2 separate regions of the Homo sapiens genome follow, and region 1 is linked to region 2. The links are contacts of gene promoters, found by promoter capture Hi-C in human tissues and cell types (Jung and others, 2019). All regions are on one chromosome and are shown on one strand. The core of a region is centred on a gene start or on the middle of the fragment in contact, and the rest is flanking DNA. Distances in the headings are between cores, read along the strand shown. Region 1 has its middle 150 kb from the start of TFAP2B. Region 2 holds the start of TFAP2B (transcription factor AP-2 beta).

Evidence for each region. Contacts are between HindIII fragments. The study calls those that stand out against the background at their distance.
Region 1: a fragment that was not itself captured here is called in contact with the fragment with the promoter of TFAP2B in region 2 in 1 of the 25 tissues and cell types used here (mesenchymal stem cells).

Annotation. Positions count from the first base shown.
Region 1 is chr6:50,969,753-50,975,766 of GRCh38, forward strand. No RefSeq gene overlaps it. Among named protein-coding and RNA genes, the nearest start is that of TFAP2B, 150 kb to the left of the region's middle. The HindIII fragment of the contact is 3,610 bases long and covers 773-4,382 here.
Region 2 is chr6:50,816,629-50,822,472 of GRCh38, forward strand. It overlaps TFAP2B (transcription factor AP-2 beta), which reads left to right and starts at 2,243. Exons shown (of 7, transcript NM_003221.4): 1 at 2,243-2,344. The coding sequence starts at 2,264. It overlaps LOC124901490 (a long non-coding RNA gene), which reads right to left and starts at 2,398. Exons shown (of 2, transcript XR_007059923.1): 1 at 2,274-2,398; 2 at 617-1,016. The HindIII fragment of the contact is 7,987 bases long and covers 1-5,844 here.

The sequences.
Region 1 (6,014 bases), core at 1,328-3,827, 150 kb after region 2:
GCCAGGAAGCCAGAAGGTTCTACATCTACCCCCTGGGCAAACTTGAATACTCTCATCTGTAAAGTGGAGATGTTATAACTCATTAACTCACTTAGAGTTGGAAGGATCACATGAAATAGTGTAAGAATGCATGACTGTCAGAAAAAATTAAATGTGTGAAAGAAATCTCTGTATATCAAGATTTATGCATCTCAAAAAATAATGTTTCATAAAAAAGGCAAGTTGTAGAATGGTAGATACAGTGTGACAACATTTGTAATAATTTAAAACAAATACTGAATAATACCTATTATTGCTAGAGGATTAGCAGTGGGCATTAGGACACAATGGACTTGAGGATGATATGTAAACCTTTTTTTTTTTCTTTTTAAAGAAGCAATTAAGTCAAATGCTAACAATAATTGTACTGGTTATGTTATCATGTACTTTCTATTTGTTTTTAAGTTACCCCTCTTCTCCCAAATCTTTAAATACTATTTAACTGTGTTCATGGCATTTTATTAAGTGATTTCTTCATCAACATTTATATCTTCTCATTAGTCCCTGAAAGTGTGTCTGTGCTTAAATGAAAAGTTCAAGGGGAAGAGAAATGATGGTTGCTTTTCTGGCATGGTTTATATATGGAATATATTTAATCTAGTTTATACCTTCTCTTCTACTCATTATTTTATTCCTATAAAAAGTGAAGGAAAGCTAGAACTCTGGGTGGTATCATCATTTATTTTTTCAACTATCTCATCTCTTTTCTCTGCTCAGCAACAAATCTCCAACATAAATTATTCTTTCACTGCCAATTTGGAAAACACATCAAACTTCCTCCTTTCCAGGCTTGGATGCCTGCAAATCAACCTTTTGAATCAATGTCAGTTGAATTACTAATTAGGGATTCCTCTGCTATCTACCAGGATGCTGAGCATTGATCTTCTCTCAAAGGGTCCTGCTGCTTCCCTCCCTTCATGGAAATGGCAAGTATCCAAGATTACTTGTTTTTCCTCCTCTTTCTTCTTCAATTCCTAACCTGGAAGGACACAATAATATCTAAAAAGCCAGCTGCAGAGGTGTGCACCTGTAGTCCTAGCTACTCAGGAGGTTGAGGCGGGAGGATCACCTGAGCTCAGGAGTTGAAGTGCAGCCTGGGCAACATCCCCACCTTGAAAGAAAAATTGGAACGTGGGAGGAAGGAAGGAAGGAAGGAGGGAAGGAGAGAAGGAAGGAAGGAAGGAAGGAAGGAAGGAAGGAAGGAAGGAAAGTATCTACTATTTCCCTTGCTCTTTAAATCTTCCCAGTATTTTCTTTCTTTTCTCTCTTCTTTGGCACTGCTCTGACTTGTTCCTTTAATGCTCTTCTGTGGGCATTCATTTTGTAGCTTAGAGTTGACATTATTTAGCAGATGGGAAGGAGAAGTTGGGAGCTGGGGGATGGAGATATGGACTGCACATATTTTGGAATTAGCACAATATCACTCCTAGTCTTTCATTTTCCCAGTAGGGTATGATATTTCTTGGGTTCACAACTTTTTTCTCCTTGCCTGCTAGTGGTGCTGCAACATTTCTCTGGTGACTTGTCACAGATGAAAGCTTTTTTGCCTTTCAACAATGGTAAAAGTGTGACAGGCACAGGTGATAATCCTCATTTTATAGGTTATGAAGTGGAAATGAAGAGACCTTGATACTAGCCTGTGATACAGCTGTGATTATGGCTTGGGCCTCTGGTTGCCTAGCTTCAGCCTCTTTTTTCTTCACTTTTTGTCCTAAGTAAGAAATCTTTGCAGTCTTTGTTGGATTCTACTTCATTCAACTCTAAATGCTAGGATGTTTTCCCCAGCTGTACTCACTTTCTTGTTAATCTCATTCAGCTCCATTTAAAATGCCAACTATATACTATTGACTCCTAAATATATCTTTTGATATGACCTCTCCCCTGAACTCCAGTTTCATTTATCTTACTTATTTGACATCCGTCAGGATATTTAATAGGCATCTCAAACCTAGCTTGTCCAAACTTGATTCCCCTCCACCCTCAAACCAACTACTTCCTGAGCTTTCTCAATGTGACAATATTATTCACACAGCTGGCTTTTGTTAAAAAACAACTTGGAGTCAATATTGATTCTTATTTTTCTTTCATACCATTATTCAAACCATCAGCTGATCATGTGTGCCCCACTTTCAAAATATATCCCAAATCTGACCACATCTCACCATTGCCATCCTATTAAAGCTACTCATATATCATCTGATCTGGGAAGATTACTAACTGGTTTTACTTGCTATAATCTATTTTCCATGCAGCTGTCAGGGTCCTTGTAAAACATAACTCAGATCATGACATTCCTTTGCTCAAAATTTTCTAATGTCTTCTCAGCATATTTTTAGGTATTCCAAACTCCTTACTATGGCATCTGATGACCTACATGATGGGCCACTGGCCAATTCTCTAATTATATCTCCTGATTTCTCTCCCTCACTCAGTCTGCTCCAGGCACACTGACCTGCTTTCCCTTGGGTTGCCAAACACACTTGGCTTCAGTCTTTCCTATTGCTGATCTTTTGCCTGGAAATATCCCAGGATAATTGCCCTACTCCCATCTTCACTTCTTTCAGATATCTGCAAGTATCACCTCCTCAAGGACAATCAACCACACTAACTACAAACCATAGCCCTATCCCTCACTATCTCCTTTCCTGCTTTCTCTTCACAGCAGTTACCACACCCTGACTTTATATATCTCTTAATATATTTATCTTTTTCTATTTCTCCTTCTAGAATATTAGCTCTGTGAGGGAGGGACTTTAACACTCTTCTTCACTGCTGTGTCCCCAGTGTCTAGAACTGCTCCTAAGTTATAAGAACAGATTCAGATGGACTCACTAAACATTTGTTGACTCGATGACTACTGGAGGATACTTCAGGCTGGGCTATTGAGATGGGCCCAGATCAGAAGAAATCCTCTGACAAGGAGCCATCACACACTGAGCCTTATTGTGGTCAAATTCATGCTATCTATCTGCACTATACAAACACACTTGTTTTGAGGACAGGCCTCGTTTCTACAGTCTGACTTATCTTAGCTTTTAATATTATTTTGTTTCTATAAATACACTCATATTTCTCATACTACATATTTATTGGTTGCATACCAGAAACCAGTCTCTATATAATTTTTTTTATTTTAATAGGTTTTTGGGGAGCAGGTGGTTTTGGGTTACATGGATAAGTTCACTCGTGGTGATTTCTGAGATTTTGGTGCACCCATCACCATCACCCGAGCAGTGTACACTGTATCTAATGTGTATTCTTATTCCTCACTCCACTCCCACCTTTTCCCCTAAGTTCCCAAAGTCCATTGTATCATTTGTGTCAGGCTCTATACTTCTCTATTCTTTACCTATTTTAATCCTCACAAGAACATAAGGGTCCTATTGAGCTTAAGTATTTTGCCCAAAGCTGGTCAGTGGTGAAGTCAGAATTTTAAACATGGAAGCCTGACAAGAAGGCCAAACTCTTAACCACCATCGCTCTGCTTTGTATTCTCATACTGCTCCTGGTGTCTCCGTTTTTGGCTGAGAAGATATGAATATCATGGCGAAGCATCAGTGCAGCAATGCTCCCAGAGCTTTCACACACCGTTACATATTTACTGAGGTGTGTGATGGAATGGCATTTTTCTTTTTAAGATTCAACAACCCATTAATTCTGCAACTTTAGGACAACCTGTCCCATGTGCTGCCCAACAAATATTCTTTCTCCTTATGATCATTGGACAATAAAGAGACCATGTTCTGGTAATTTCTCCACACCTTGTCCTGCCCTCCTCCTCCTAAGAACTGATTGTTTCCTACATTCTGCAGGCTGCTCAGTCAACCTGGTCACTGTGATATCCTCAGTGCTAAGGACACTGGAAGCGGGAGTCAGGTTTGCACAGTTAGATTGATAAGCAGATGCTAAGCCGATGTGGCACAGCTGCTACTGCTGAGCCAGGAAAAGCAGGTCAAGGTTATTAGGAGAAAGTGTGGCACTTGTCCATAGCTGGAAGCAAAAATATTCCCATGTACTGTTCCCTTTCCCAGTCTCTCTCTTCAGATCCCTTCTTGTTCTCTCTTTGTATTTCTTTCCGTCTTCTCTTTTATAGAGTATTATGGCCAAAGAGACATATATTGAAATAGCTGGACTTCTCTAAACAAAGGACATCCATAAAACAATAACTTTGTTTTTCTAACATTATGGGTATTACTTGATCTACCAAGTAGTACCATGCTTTAAAAATAAGTCAAAGATTAACAGTGACCATTTGCCATTTATTATTTCATTCTATTTCTTTATTTCTAAGACATGGTTTCACATATGAAATATACAGAACATTTTGTACTAATGCATCAGAAATGCATGGCACATTAGCATACATGCAATGCAACCAGGCAGTCTGGTTTGTGGTTTCCATTTTTCATTGAATTGAATTTATTGGTGTCTAAATTTGATTTTTCATCCAGAAGAACCTGTTTCCCCTAAGGTCTTTTTAGTTGTTTCTATGTAATTTTGAACTGAATATCATTTAATTAGGTGAAAATGACCACATGAAATAAACCAACCCTAAAACCAAAGGCATTTAAAAATTATCATCTTTAGATTGACTGCATCAGTATCTACCAGTAGAACTTGAAGCCTTATCAGGCAGACTACCAGATAGTACATGTGCCCTGCCCCTGTTTGGGAATTCTCTGACTGTTACAAGTAGTGTGGCACCTCCCAGAAAGCTCACTTCCCTTCTAGACCTCCCCGCCCCCACCACTCATTATGCCAATCCCCAGCCTGGGACCAGGCCTTATCCTCTGACTGGAAATCTTTGGGCTCACCAAAAATTTGGAGACGTCTGCTTCAATTATATTTTATACATAATTTTGCCTTTACAGTCCCTTCAGAATATGTCGTGTGGAACATATGAAGAGCACTGAGCTGGAAGTCTGGGTTTATATTTGAGCCCTGGCACTTATTAGCTGTATAAGTACAGGAAATTGCACATCTCTCTGAGCTTCAATTCCTTGTTTATCTGAATAAGAAGGGAGTGATAAAAGAAAAAAAATCTGTGAAGTATCTAGCATAATATAGTAATACCTGCAATAAACAATAGCAATTCTTATAATACTGTTACTGTTTCCCTGAACTAGCTTTTGTACTCCTGGTAATAAAGCACCTCAAGGCAGAGAATGGTAAGTGGAGAAGAAATTAAAATGACTTTTCACCAAATTTTGCTTGTAAAATGTCTGAAATTTAAGCAAACAGACAGCAAACTTACTTATACTCAGGACAAGTAACTAGGTCATGGAGAAGAAATGCCAGATCTTACAAATGTAAAAAGTAAACACAGGATTTAACAGTATGTTTCTAGGTCATATGCATAAGTGGGAATAAAAGTAATGCCTGCTGCATTGTGTTGTTATGAGAACAGAATGGTTTAATCCATATAAAGCACTTAAAAGATGTAGGGAAAAAAAACCCAAATTAGATATTGACATCATTGAATAAAAGACTTGACTTTTAGTCTTGGTGGCATGCCAGTGATTATGGGGAAGTCTCTTTCGTTTGAAATACTGCAAGTCTGATTGTGGTATTTCTTGAGATTTTGAGAATGTCTAAATAGAATCCCATTAGCTCCTTGAGGCATTTATCTCTATATCTTACCTCTTGGTACAGTATTTGGCACAGACTCAGTATTTAGCGAATGCTTATTGAATGAGTGGATGAGCAAATAGAAAAGCTACCTGTCTTGTCTAATTCTAAAGGTCATTTGGTTAAGACCATAGCATTTTGATGCAAATTGCAATTTCTTTATTTTTCTTCTCACTTTGCCCACCCACCCTATCCCACCAGGTACACAACTGTGCAACCTCTCTACCTCTTCTCACTCTAGAAAGCATTTACCTGGAAGCAGTCTGGAGCCACAAACTCTAGAGCCCACAAGATCCACACAGGGAGTACGAGTGAGTGGAATGGTCCAGGGGATGGTGGATGAGTCC
Region 2 (5,844 bases), core at 993-3,492:
ACAATACCTTATATTATTTTAATTTATGTGTAAAATTATCTCTTGCAGGTTTTGTTTTGTTAAATCTCAGAGTTTATTTATTTTAGACTAGGCAATAATATACCAAAAAGATATTAAAAGGTGTTAAAAGCATTTAGAGAAAAAAAGTGAGATTTTTCCAAATGCATTTTATTTGGGTTGTAATGATCTTTAGGTAATAACAATGACAGAATTATTGATTTGAAAGGGAGAAAACAATTATTTCCATTAATTAAATGTCTTGTGCCTGGAGAATCTGAACTTCCAAGTCTATAATATTTATCTTTCAGATTATTGATCTGGCACTGATTTTAGTTCTAGAAGTCAGGGGGTGTGGAACCCGTTTCAAGTCCCACCACACAATAAGATTAAGAAAAATCCCTTCTCATCTCCTAACTAGCTCTGGAAGCAAAGAAGAAAATCTTTGCTGATGCTCCTAGTGAAAAATCTGTATAGATTGTGTATGATTTAAGGTTAACATTTAAAGGGGAAGAAAGGAATGGAGAGAGAAAGGAAGGAACGAAAAGGGAAATGAAGGAAAGAAAAAAGGAAAACAAAAAGGAGGAAGAGGAGAAAAGGAAAGACGAAACATAAAAAATTCAACCGGAAATAAGGGGTTTATTTCTGAAGTTCCTTCTGAAGCACCTTCTTTGTGTTCTTTTCCTTTGACTTATCTTTAAAAATTAAATTAAAAATCTGCAGAATTGTTTATTCTGCAGTTCATGAAGCTTCTCCTTGGTTTTGATTGAATCGACGTCCAACAAGGTTGTCCGGAGCCCTGTACTCAAACAGCGTCCATCCCTGTTCGCGCAGAGCTGCACACAGCAGTCCTGGATTTAAAGACAATCACCCTTTGCAGATTCACTCTCACCAGGCTTAATAACTTCCACCCCAAATTGCCCCATCCCTCCTCGGTCCCTCCTGGCATTTCTTTTCTGTCCCAGGCGCAGAGATCCTCTTCTGGGCGTCTGTTCCGGCTATGAGAAGCTCTCCGCACCCTGAAAGGGAGTAGAAAAACAGAGGGGATGGGAAAGGGGGAACAGGGGAACAGATGAGTATTCATTTCATGATAAAATTCAGAATCCCTGCGCCTTAAATGGTGCCCATTTTCTAAGTCTGGTTAATATTGTTCTTGTTGCTGATGATGTTTTCCTTTTTAAAAACTATATGAATCATCTTATTAAGAAAAATTATACAAAAAAAAGAAGAAACTCCACATGCACTAAAATATTTTTCACTATCTCTTTGAAGACATTCTGCTTAAACCTTTTCAAAGATTCGGGTGGCCCTTTCTTGACTCTCCATGATTAAAACCACTTACAAGTCATACACAACAGATGCAAATATAAAATGTCCTTGGCCTCTGCAAAAAAGGCTCAAAATTAACCTTGTCTGAACGTGTGCGTACGTTGCTTCCAACATCTGAAAAAAACTTGATAAAATGGAGACTCCAGCCAAGAGGAATGGTGCATGGAATCCGTTGAAAATGCATACAAACAACACCTAAAATAACAAGCAGCACAAACTGAGGTGTATTTAAGTTTCCAAAGGTTTTAGGTAAAATGACCAGAAAATATTAGAAATGGTCATCAACGGTGGCTAGCTTTTTTGTTCTATGGTGACAGAGATAAAGTTAAAAAAAAAAAAGTTGTGTAGCCATCAACACAGAGATAGTCCTTAAAATCCCCCATATCCAGCCTTTCAAAATACTCTCTTCCGGAACATACATGAATAGGAGGGAGCTTTTGTGTTTAAAAATCTTGGTAAGTGTCCCCCTTTAAAATCTACATAGAAAATAGGGGACTGATGGCCCCTGGTTTCTCATTATGAATTGCAAAGACTTCAGTTAGTGGCTACAATGATGTGTCATTTTCGATATAGAAGTTATAAAATGTATATATTATATTAATCACCCTGAACAACTCTTTGTTAAATGCACATTTGGAGTCTGCAGACTGTGTGACCCAGAGGTGCTTATATAACTATATGTGGGTGTCTGGGTGTAAATACGGGTTTATGATTTTTATAGTATATATGTCTGTGGGTTGCATCTAACTCCTGTGTGTGCAATAATGTTTTTTCTCTTTGCTGAGGCTTACTTGTCCAGCCTATTGTTTGAGACAACAGATATAAGTTGCGATGGGAGAGGAGCGTCGGATTTGGTGTGTATCCCCCATTTCCAATTATAGATGGATCATTACAGACAGCGGAGTCCTGAGAAGCCAGACATCTGCTCCTCACATGAATGCACTCACCTCCTAGAGACCAGGCTGCCATCATGCTCTGGAAGCTTGTGGAGAATGTCAAGTACGAAGATATCTATGAGGTGAGTCGACACCCCCAGATGCACCTTAGAGCTTTGCAGATAGAGAATTTGAGCTTCTTGATACCCCAAATGATATATATTTTTAAGCTATTTACTCGTAGATTTCCGGTCGGTTTTCTCAGCTTTTTTTAACTTTTAGAAAAGCTGGCTAGGGAAGACTTCGCTGCTCTGAAAAGGGACTTTAAGGCTGAAATCTGACAACTTTAATTTAGGAATGTTTTTATTTATTTTATTTTTCTTTCCCTTTTCCTCGCCTCCCCCCACCCCACCCCACCCTTTTAAGCTCTGATGGGGAATGTGGTGCTACTGAATGTGGGCACGCTCTCAGAGAAAATCGAGATTCTGATAAAGTCAGGGGCTTTTCTCGTTTTAAGTGTGGAAGAGAATTGGGTTTTCAAGCCTCATTTGTAACAGACTCGGGCTTTTAATTTTTATTTTCAATAAAATTTCTGAAATTGATAACAAATGGTTCCAAGTAGAGGACAGAGAATTAGCGGGAAAGAAGTAGATGGCTGGAGATATGGATGGATAGAGCAAAATAGAAGTCGTAGCAGTTTATTAGTTTCTGTTTTCTTGTGTTTTGCTTCCTTGAGGGTCACTGCGTCCGAACAGAAATCGCAGCCGCCTCCTGTGTGGGCATCTTTCACGGAAATTTCTGCCCACGTTCAATGCGTACGGGTCTCTAGCACTGAGGCTAGCTCAACTCTTCGGGGCAGGAGAAGTTGCGCCCAGCCAGGAGGACGCCAGCCGCCTCCGGGGCCCGGACCGCGCTCGCCAAAGCCCTTTTCCGGCTCGGGCGAGGGCTGACGCGGCCAGACGGCTCCGCTACTCGCGGGCGAGGCGGACTAGGCGGACGAGGCGGCCGAGGCGGGCGAGGTGGGAGAGGCGGGCGAGGTGGGAGAGGCGGCCGAGGCGGGCGAGGCGCGGGGCGCGCGGCGGGCCAGGCTGGGGACCGGGAAGCCCGCGGAGCCTCGCTTTTAAGCGGAATGGTCTGGGACAGCCCCAGGTGGTTGCCAGGGGAAGGGAGGAAGGGAAGGTTCTGCTGAGACGTCGAGGTTGGAAATAAAAACTTCGGAAAGGCGAAGCGGATTTAGAAAAGGAGGGAAGTCGAGGCGGGCGAAGCGGGCCATGGAGATTGCTAAGAGGAAAAGTTGGAGAGAAAAGGAAGGAAGAGAAGCAGACTCCCGGGTGGCGGGCGCGGGCCGCTAGGTCAGACGAAAGGTGGAGGGATGCAGAGGCTCCCCAAAGAGCCGAGAAAGACACGCGACCCCTCCGGATCGGGACAGCTCCTGAAAGCCCGGCGCAGAGCCGCCTCGAAGATCCTAAGAGTGGGCGACTCACAGGCGCGGCCGGCAAGCTCCTGGGGGACTCGGGCTCGGACGAGCGCCCACAGGCAGCGCCTGGCGCCCACACCTCCTGCCCCCCCCCGAATCCTAATGTTGGGGTGTGTGTATGTGTGGAGGTATGTAGGAGAGAGGAGGAGGAGATAAGAGAGGAGAGGGAGAAAAGCAGGAGAGAGCGCGAGAGAGCAGAGAGGAGAGAGATTGGTCTTGTTGCTGAATGATGCTTGGGGTTTTCCTTTTCTCTTTGTGGTTGTGTATCGACTGTAACGAAGAGCCGCGCCTACGCGCCTGGTGGGGATTGTTTCGGTTCGGCCTCCTTTTCTTTCCTTAACAGGCGGGATAATGGTAAAGTCCAAGGCGCTAGAACTGTCCTAAAGAATATTAGCGCCCAAAGTGGGCATGACATTAGCAAGCACGGGGCCATGGTGAAAACAGCTCAAGCTATATGCATGCAGAGGCATTTCAGTGGGTTCTAAAAAGTAACCAGGGTAACATTCGTTCTTTACAGAAAGTAAAGTAGCTAAATGGAAAAGGAAGGAGGGAGAGAAGAAAGGAGGGAGGGAGAGAGGAAGAGGGAGGGGTGGAGTGGAAGGGAGGGAAGAGAGAAGAGAAAAGAGGGGAGGGAGAGAGAGAAAGAGAAATAAACAGGGAGAGAGAGGGAATATTACAGGTGGTCCTATCTGCCTAAATTTTCTGCTCAAAAAACAGAATCCGCAGCTCGGTGGAAGGAGCCTATTTAAGTCTGGACTAAGGTTGAACTTTAACAGAAATGGCAGTCAGGCCAGTTGAACGGGTTCCTGAAACATCCAAAAAGGTTTTCTGTTGCCCCTGGCTTTGCCTGGAAAGGATAAGTTTAGTGTATTTGAAGATTGATGGCGTATGTTTTAAATTGAGGTAAAAATCGCAAACTATGTGAGCACTAAACAGGAAAAGGCTGCACAGGAATGAAAAGCCTCCATCTCGCTTCTGTCCTTTAACAAATGAGCATAATCTTCCACATTTAGCAAAAGTCTGCAAAAGTCACTGTAAATAACCAGGCCCACCAATTTGCCTTTCTCTCGCCTCCAAATGATGAAGCAACCCTTTTTATTTTGTTTTTGTAATCCTCACACAAAGCACCCAAGGCGACCAAGTCCTCCGGATTAGGGAAGTCTCTCTCCAGGTAGGAGGACACCTCCATTCTATACAACCTCCCAGCACTGTTCTCCCTCACTGCCTTATCCAAAGGAGCAGGGGCTGCTTTACTCGTGTCCCCGGCACAGTTAATTGAAGTTCTGCCTCTTTCCTGCTAAACTTTTTCCCCAGTCTGCCTTTGCCAGCCCCCTCGTCTGATTACATCTAGTAATTCTCCACTGAATGAACGTCATTTACAATAGTAGGGGAGCTCTGCGCTCGCTGCTGCTTCACGCTCCATTTGTCCTCTATTCTCCCTTTAAAGTACTCGTGTAATATTAATAGTCATGAATATCAATTATTATGAGGCGGTGTAGGCAAGCGGAGGGAGGAAGGGGCGGCCGAGCAGTCTGAGCCCAGCTTCGGGTGAAAGAGGACTGCATCTGGAGCCCCGAAGAACGGCAGAAGAAAAGAGGCCAAAAAGACAGCAAAGAGACAGATGAATAGTTCTGTCTGTGTGTGACAGGCATCGCCAATCTTGTTGGGGTGGGGGGCGGGTGTAATTTTTTTTTTTTTTTTTTGATGGCTTGTCCTGGAAACACATCAAGCTCAGCTCCTGTGTCCAGCTCGCTTCTCTGCTGGACTCCTTGATTTTTTTTTTAATCATTGTTTGATTTTGAGCAGTAACCAGGCTTTTTTTTCCAGATGTTAGTCCACACCTATTCATCCATGGTGAGTTTGGATTCACGTGTTACCAGAATTGCATGCTCCCTCCTCTCACTGTCTCTCTGTCTCTGCGTCTCTGTGTGTGTGTGTGTCTCACACTCTCTGTCTCTCTCTGTCTTCCTTTGAGCGCCTTTGGCTTGGTAATTTAGCACCATAATTGGACGAGGCTGCAGCTGCTTCTCTCTGCATTGTGTGTTCTCCGTCTGAGCTCCATGAGTCAGCTGGGAGGGGAGAGGCCGAAAAGAAAAACTTTTTATTTGCCATTGCTGTTTGGAAATTTAGGTGACTATTTCTGCAAAAAGAACCATGGGGAGTTTA